Linked DNA regions of Homo sapiens: region 1 is linked to region 2. The links are contacts of gene promoters, found by promoter capture Hi-C in blood cells and fetal thymus (Javierre and others, 2016). All regions are on one chromosome and are shown on one strand. The core of a region is centred on a gene start or on the middle of the fragment in contact, and the rest is flanking DNA. Distances in the headings are between cores, read along the strand shown. Region 1 holds the start of RPL7 (ribosomal protein L7). Region 2 holds the start of SNX16 (sorting nexin 16).

Region 1 (3,218 bases), core at 491-2,990, 8.5 Mb before region 2:
GGGCTCACTCCATTGATACTGTGGTGAAAACGGACCAGAAATGCATTTGCCTTTCATCGAAATTTTTATTAATACTAACCATTATAGTTTTGAATATCGAATCCTACCTAAACAGATAGGAATCCTCTCATGTTACACACTGAATTTCTGTATTCTATTAAGAGAAGGGATAGGAGCTTGGGGAACATGGCTTGCAACTAAACCATTAGTGATCAGCACCCTCCTTGTTCTAGCTTCCCCTAAAATATTGTTACTCCGGTGTTTCAGAATCAGGGCTCCCAGAAGTAATGTGAAGGTTTTTTTTTTTTTTCCCATTCAAACCCGAATGCAGTAAAACTGAACTTACCCTCTGATTCTGATGACAAACGCCAATTTGGGTTCTGCAGGTACATAGAAGTTGCCAGCTTTTCTTGCCATCCTCGCCATTCGAATTTCAGTTCTGTACATCTGCCTATATTCCTTGTGATAGTGCTTTGCTTTTTCATAGATAAGCTTCCTCCTTGCCTTTCGAAGCTGAAAACCAATAATCAGTTATTCATAATTTTTAGCTCAATCACAATTAGCAATGCCAATCATTAAAAAGAAAACTACAACATGTTTCCTTTAAATCTTTTCTTGCCACAGTATGCAATTACATCCCCCACCAAAAAACCCCACTACCTTCAGATTGTAACATTAGGTAGCTAAGCAATTACTCAGTACAGTTAGGAAGTAAATCTTGCCAAGAACATTCACCTCATCCTCAATCCCAATAAGGCGCCTCCTTATGTGCTAGTGCCTCAAAAAGTTTACTTACCATCTTTTGGGCAAACTTCTTTCTCAGGCGCTTGATCTTCAGCTCTGCGAAATTCCTTCGCTTTTTCTTAAGGGTTTCTGGCACAGCAGGAACCTCCTTCTTCTTCTCTCTAACGTTAATAAACAAAAATGTTATCAATAGCTCAAAAAGCTCACAGCGCTGTATTACTCCCGTACTGAGCAGTGTTGTTTACCAGAAATGCTGTCACTGACTTTAGTCACTAGTAACTTTACTTGCTCTGGCATGCTACAGTGTACGATGCATATTTTAGCTCCATGTCAATAACCTTTAACACCATGTTGCCTAAAACGCAATCACAAATATGACAATAGCAATACGTTTTTCCCTATTTCAACCAAGAGGCCCGGCCTCCGACGACTAATTAAAAAAAAAAACAAAAAAAACACACCAACACCCGAATAACAAAATGTACTAGCTGAAAGACTACTGCAAGGCACTGACCCCGAGACTTTAAGCGCAAAAATTAAAAAATAAAAATAAAAAAAAAACAAGCCACCACCACTCTGGTTCAATCAGGATCCACATGTTGAAAGCAAAGGCCTGGCGGCAGGGAGGCCTGTACCAAGCACCAGCCAAGGACGAACACAATTCAGAGGTTCTGCGCCTCCCCCGAAAGACCCTCTACCGAGGACTGGGCCGTCAGCCAACCGACGGGTTCCACACACATTCCAACCCGACATCTCGTTCCCGGGATCTCCAAAACCTCCGTCCTAAGACCGCCCGCATCCCAACCCTAGCCTCAGGTCCCCACTGGTGTCACACAGCGTTCACAATCAAGCAGGGAGGTGGGCAAAGGTGCAAGCTACGGCCAGAGAGAGAAAAAGTGACACAAAAAGTATCTGGCTCTGGAGATGGAGAAGGATTCTCAAGAGGACCAGAAGCAACTCACTCTACACCCTCCATGGTTCCAGCCGGAAAAAGAGGAAGTTGGCGCATGCGTACTGTCCACTTAAAGACTTCGCGAGAGAAGCCCCACGACTCATAGGTGTCTTAGAATAAGCCGGAAAAGAATCCAGAACTAAAAAGCCGCCTTGCAGACGCAAAGAACTCCCTGATTTAGCCTCTTTCAACAAACTTTCGGGTAAAACTTGTTTGAAGAAAATATATGCATTTGATTAGACTTTTTAATCAATTCAAGAGCAAAGAGTGCTGACACCTTGGCAACTCCGGGTCCTAATCCCCAGGCTGCGCTGACAGGATTAGGCTCCGTTCCTCCCCATAATGTTCCCAGGACGAGCCTCATGGGGACGAACTACAAATCCCAGCATGCACCAGTCTTCGCCCGCCCGGCGGGAGGGCAACGGCTGACCAGGACCGCAGGCAAGCACCGCGGCGACGGTTCCAGCCAGGAAAATGAGAGCCTCTTGGGCCACGTTCCAAACGGCTAGCTGCAATTCGAAGTCACTTTTGGCCGCCCTCCCGGCTCCCTGCCGCGGTAGTCGCAGACTACACCCCTTTCGCCGCTCCGCGAGGTCCTTGTCGTCGCTCCAGCCCACAGGGCTGTCTTCCGCAGCGCCTGATCGCAGGCGGGGCGGTCTGGAGTGCTCTAGCTTACGAAAAGTGGCTAGCCAGGGACCAGTGGGGACCGGACGGCCGGAGGAGGATGGCCGGGGCTCTGCTGACTGCCGAGCTCGGCAGGCGGAGGCCAGGACACCCCACGGGAGGGGGCGTGAGCTGCGAAGGGAGGTGCGAGGAGGGCTGAGGTTGCGGCCACGGCCGTGTGAGAGGGGCTACCCGGCTCGGCTCCGCGGACGGCTGGCGGGCTGGGGGCTGGGCCGGGGGCGGGGTGCGCCCGGGGGCGGGGAGGCCGGGCGGAGGGAGGGCCGATGCCGAGGCTGGCGCGGGCTCTTCCCGGTCGCGGGGTTATATAGCGCGGAGCGTGGAGCCCGCTCAGAGCCGGCCCGGAGCGCTCTGACTTGCAAGCGGGCTGCGCTGCGGAGCCCAGTGCCCGAGTGACACCCGCGGAGAGTGCAGGGCCGGGGAACGCGAGCCCTCGGGGGCAGCTGCAAGGCGTTGGGCAGCGCTTGCCTGCGCCGAGCGAGTCTCCCCTTCCCGGCGCTCCGCCGCCCCGCACCCCACTCTCCCACCCTCTCGCAACTTGGGTCGAGTTGACAACTCCCGCGGCAGCCCGCTGGCCCGTGCCGCCTCCGCTGCGCACCCCTCCCCCGGGGTGAGAGGGAGCCGGCGCGCCGGTTCCGGGGACGCTCGGGCGGCAGCAGCTTGGCCATGAGGGCAGTTCGAGTAGTCTAACTCGCGGCTGTCACCGCCACTGCAGCGGAGCCGGCCGGCCGGGCGCTGCGGGACGGGCGGGCGGCTGCCGGCAGGAGGCGCCGAGCCGGGTGACTGCCGCGGCGGGCACAGTCCGGGGCCACAGCGCCGAGCCCGGGCGGGAGTGGCCCCG
Region 2 (3,094 bases), core at 585-3,084:
TTTAACCTGATTTCATGTATGTAAAAGTTGGTAGGAGAAAGATTGGTAAAGACCCTTCTGAAGCTTTATTCCATGCTTATCATCTTGACAGTACTACATTCAGTACAAGAGAGAAAAAAGAAAAGGAAGAAAACTATTTACATTACCTCTGGATTTAATCAGAAAGGGAGGAAATCTATTCACATTACCTTTCAATTTAATTAGTGAAACTATAAAGATTTACACAGAGTAGTAACAATGAACCAGATGCTTTGATGCTACATAGTATAATTCTATAGAACCCAGGATTAAAAATACACACTTGGTCAAGTTACTCAAATAAAACCCAGTGAACACTGAACTTATATGCAACAAAATTAAATAGTGAAAATTGTAACCGTTCTTCACAGCTTACAGGTCATCACTAATTCTGCTCTACGATAAACTGAGGGTATTTAAATCTTTATAACTTACACTCAAGAATCTGTTATCAAACGGACCAGTATATCTTGTGTCAGAATAGTATCATAACACAAAGAAGAAATGGTTTACTATTACTTTGTTAAATAATAAACTCATAAGAAACTGTAACAACTACAGACCAACAAAATGACAAGACTACACACAACAATAACTGCCCAACTTTTCATACGAAACTCTACTGGTGGGAAAGGTAAGAAATGAGTCACCTGGACTTGGAAAGATGCTGAAATAAGATTTTTAACTCTGGGCTGGGCGCTGTGGCTCACGCCTGTAATCCCAGCACTTTGGGAGGATGAAGCGGGTGGATCGCCTGAGGTCAGGAGTTCGAGGCTAGCCTGGCCAACATGGTGAAACCCCGTCTCTACTAAAAATACAAAAATTAGCCGGGCATGGTGGCGCAGGCCTATAATCCCAGCTACTTGGGAGGCTGAGGCAGGAGAATCGCTTGAACCCGGGAGGCGGAGGTTGCAGTTTGCCGAGATCGTGCCATTGCACTCCAGCCTGGGCTACAAGAGGAAAACTCCGTCTCAAAAAAAAAAAAAAAAAAGATTTTTAACTCAAGTGGCTCTCGGCAACATTTCCCCATTATCAAAGATTCATGAAACTTTAGCTGCTGATTCACCGCTCCTCGGTTCCGCCTGACGGCCTCCCCAAAAACAAGTAAGTCTGAAATCTCAACCTTCTCAAGGTCCGAGGGATCTACCTGGCCTTTGCCACTCTACTACCTGAGGCCGCCTGGCTGGGGGGAGGTCGCATATCAATACATATCAACACAACCACTGACGTCCGAAGATGTGAGCGCTACCCAAGCGTTAAAAAAACAAAACAAGCAAACAAACAAACAAAAAAACGTGCTGTGCTCATTAGGAGCGTCTTCGCCTCTACCCTGATGCGGAGTTGCTCCCAGGACGCTCAGTTCATTCTCACTCTGGAAAACCTCAGGTGAGGTGGCCCGACTCTGAGCAACCCCGTGGGCGGGAGGAAAGAGGCAAATACCAGGCACAGTTCGACCCTCGGAAGGTAAGGCCGGGGTCTGCGCCGGTCACGGGTCTTCCGCACTGCAGGCGGCGAGACCCGCAGCTCCCTGGGATCACAGACTCTCCCGCCTCCGCTGACCGGTGCGCGCCCAGCGCCTCCCAGACGCACAGTGGGGTCGGCGGTGGCCTGAAGGTGGCTGGGCTTCCTGCGGCGCCTCTCCACTCTCCCGCGGAGCCCCTTGCCGCCCGCCAGACATCAAGGTTGCAGGTGTCACCCGTACGAGAACCCGGGACAGCGACCGCCTGTCCTGAGGTAATGACCCAGTCTTTACCTCAGCCCCCTCGGCGATCCCGAACGAGCGCGCTTCCCGGTGACGGTTAAACCGGACTCTCCTTAACCGCAGCTTTTCGCCTCCTCCCTCAGCAGCGAGAAGCCTCACGTGACACCCCCGCCCCAAAAGCAGCTGCTCCCCGCCTCAGCCAGTCTCTGCCCGGGCCCAAGATCCCTGCTGTGTGGAAGGAGGGGCCGAACTGGGCGGGGGGGGGGGGGGGGGGAGAGAGAGAGAGAGAGAGGGAGGGAGGGAGGGAGGGAGGGAGAGAGAGAGAGAGAGAGAGAGAGAGAGAGAGAGAGAGACAGAGACAGAGAGAAAGAGAGAGAGAGAGGGCAAGAGCGAGAGACAGAGAGAGAGAGAGAGAGAGAGAGAGAGAGAGAGAGAGAGAGAGAGAGAGAGAGAGAAAGAGAAAGAAAACGAGCGAGGGAGAGAGCGAGAGCGAGAGAGAGAGAGAGAGAGCGTCACACACACATCTCTGCCGGAAGTGATGTCACGGCATGGGCGCCCGCCCACCGGAGGAGCGACTGGAGTTGATCGGCTGGGCGCTCAGGTAGCGAAGATAAATGTAATCTTGTGGCAGGAAATCGACATTCTCTGCACTATCTTTAGTTTTCCAACTGAACTTCTGAGAAATGGAGGCTACAATACCTAGTTTGCCAAACAGGAGAAGACTACAATTCCCAGAAGGAACTGCGACCAACATTGGTCCGTGCTCATACTTTGCATCATGGGACTTGTAGTCATCACCAGCTTGCGCTGATTCTAACAGGTTATAGATTGTTTTCTAGAATTAGCAGCGCTTTAAGGGATGACAATCGATTAGAAGAGTAGGAAGATAGAACACTGCTTAGTAGCTGATCCGTTCTACATAATTCAGAAGTTCTCATTGGCAGAGAACCCCTGAAATTCTGTAGTGTCTTTTTACTATCCGGTGAGCAATTTGATCCCGATGATGGAATATTAGCCTTGTTAGACATGCGCTTCTGAAGACCTGTGCAGTAGGGAAAGCCGAGTTTTTTGATAGGCAAATCCCAAGATTCAGACCGGTCTACAGGTCTGTTCATCATTAGAATCAGATAATGTGGTTGAAAAATCATTCCACGATTTCTAAGGCTTTTGTATAGTCCCAATGTTACCCATGGAGGGTCTTGACTACAAGTCATCCAGGTTCTTGGTTTTTTTAACAAAGAATTGGACAAAACGCACAAAGAAAGCAAGGAAAGAATGAAGCAAGGAAAGCAGAGATTGAAATGACTGTACACTCCACAGAGTGGGAATGGCCTCCAGCCAGTGGCTCAAGAGCCCTGGTTACAGGATTTTCTG

Evidence for each region. The method cuts DNA at HindIII sites, captures the fragments that hold promoters and counts their contacts. A CHiCAGO score of 5 or more calls a contact.
Region 1: the fragment with the promoter of RPL7 here is called in contact with the fragment with the promoter of SNX16 in region 2 in 4 of 17 cell types (total B cells, total CD4 T cells, total CD8 T cells and 1 more); the score reaches 6.7 in total B cells.

What each region holds. Positions count from the first base shown.
Region 1 is chr8:73,291,893-73,295,110 of GRCh38, forward strand. It overlaps RPL7 (ribosomal protein L7), which reads right to left and starts at 1,741. Exons shown (of 7, transcript NM_000971.4): 1 at 1,707-1,741; 2 at 797-905; 3 at 347-513; 4 at 1-18. The coding sequence starts at 1,720. It overlaps RDH10 (retinol dehydrogenase 10), which reads left to right and starts at 2,710. Exons shown (of 6, transcript NM_172037.5): 1 at 2,710-3,218. RefSeq lists enhancers at 993-1,701, 1,323-1,372, 1,383-1,742, 1,702-2,409, 1,863-2,352 and a silencer at 2,443-3,218. The HindIII fragment of the contact is 6,100 bases long and covers 491-3,218 here.
Region 2 is chr8:81,840,351-81,843,444 of GRCh38, forward strand. SNX16 (sorting nexin 16) reads right to left here and starts at 1,835. Exons shown (of 8, transcript NM_152836.3): 1 at 1,772-1,835. LINC02235 (long intergenic non-protein coding RNA 2235) reads left to right here and starts at 2,269. Exons shown (of 8, transcript NR_170320.1): 1 at 2,269-2,321. RefSeq lists enhancers at 909-1,841, 1,769-1,818, 2,250-2,519 and a silencer at 1,389-1,438. The HindIII fragment of the contact is 7,243 bases long and covers 62-3,094 here.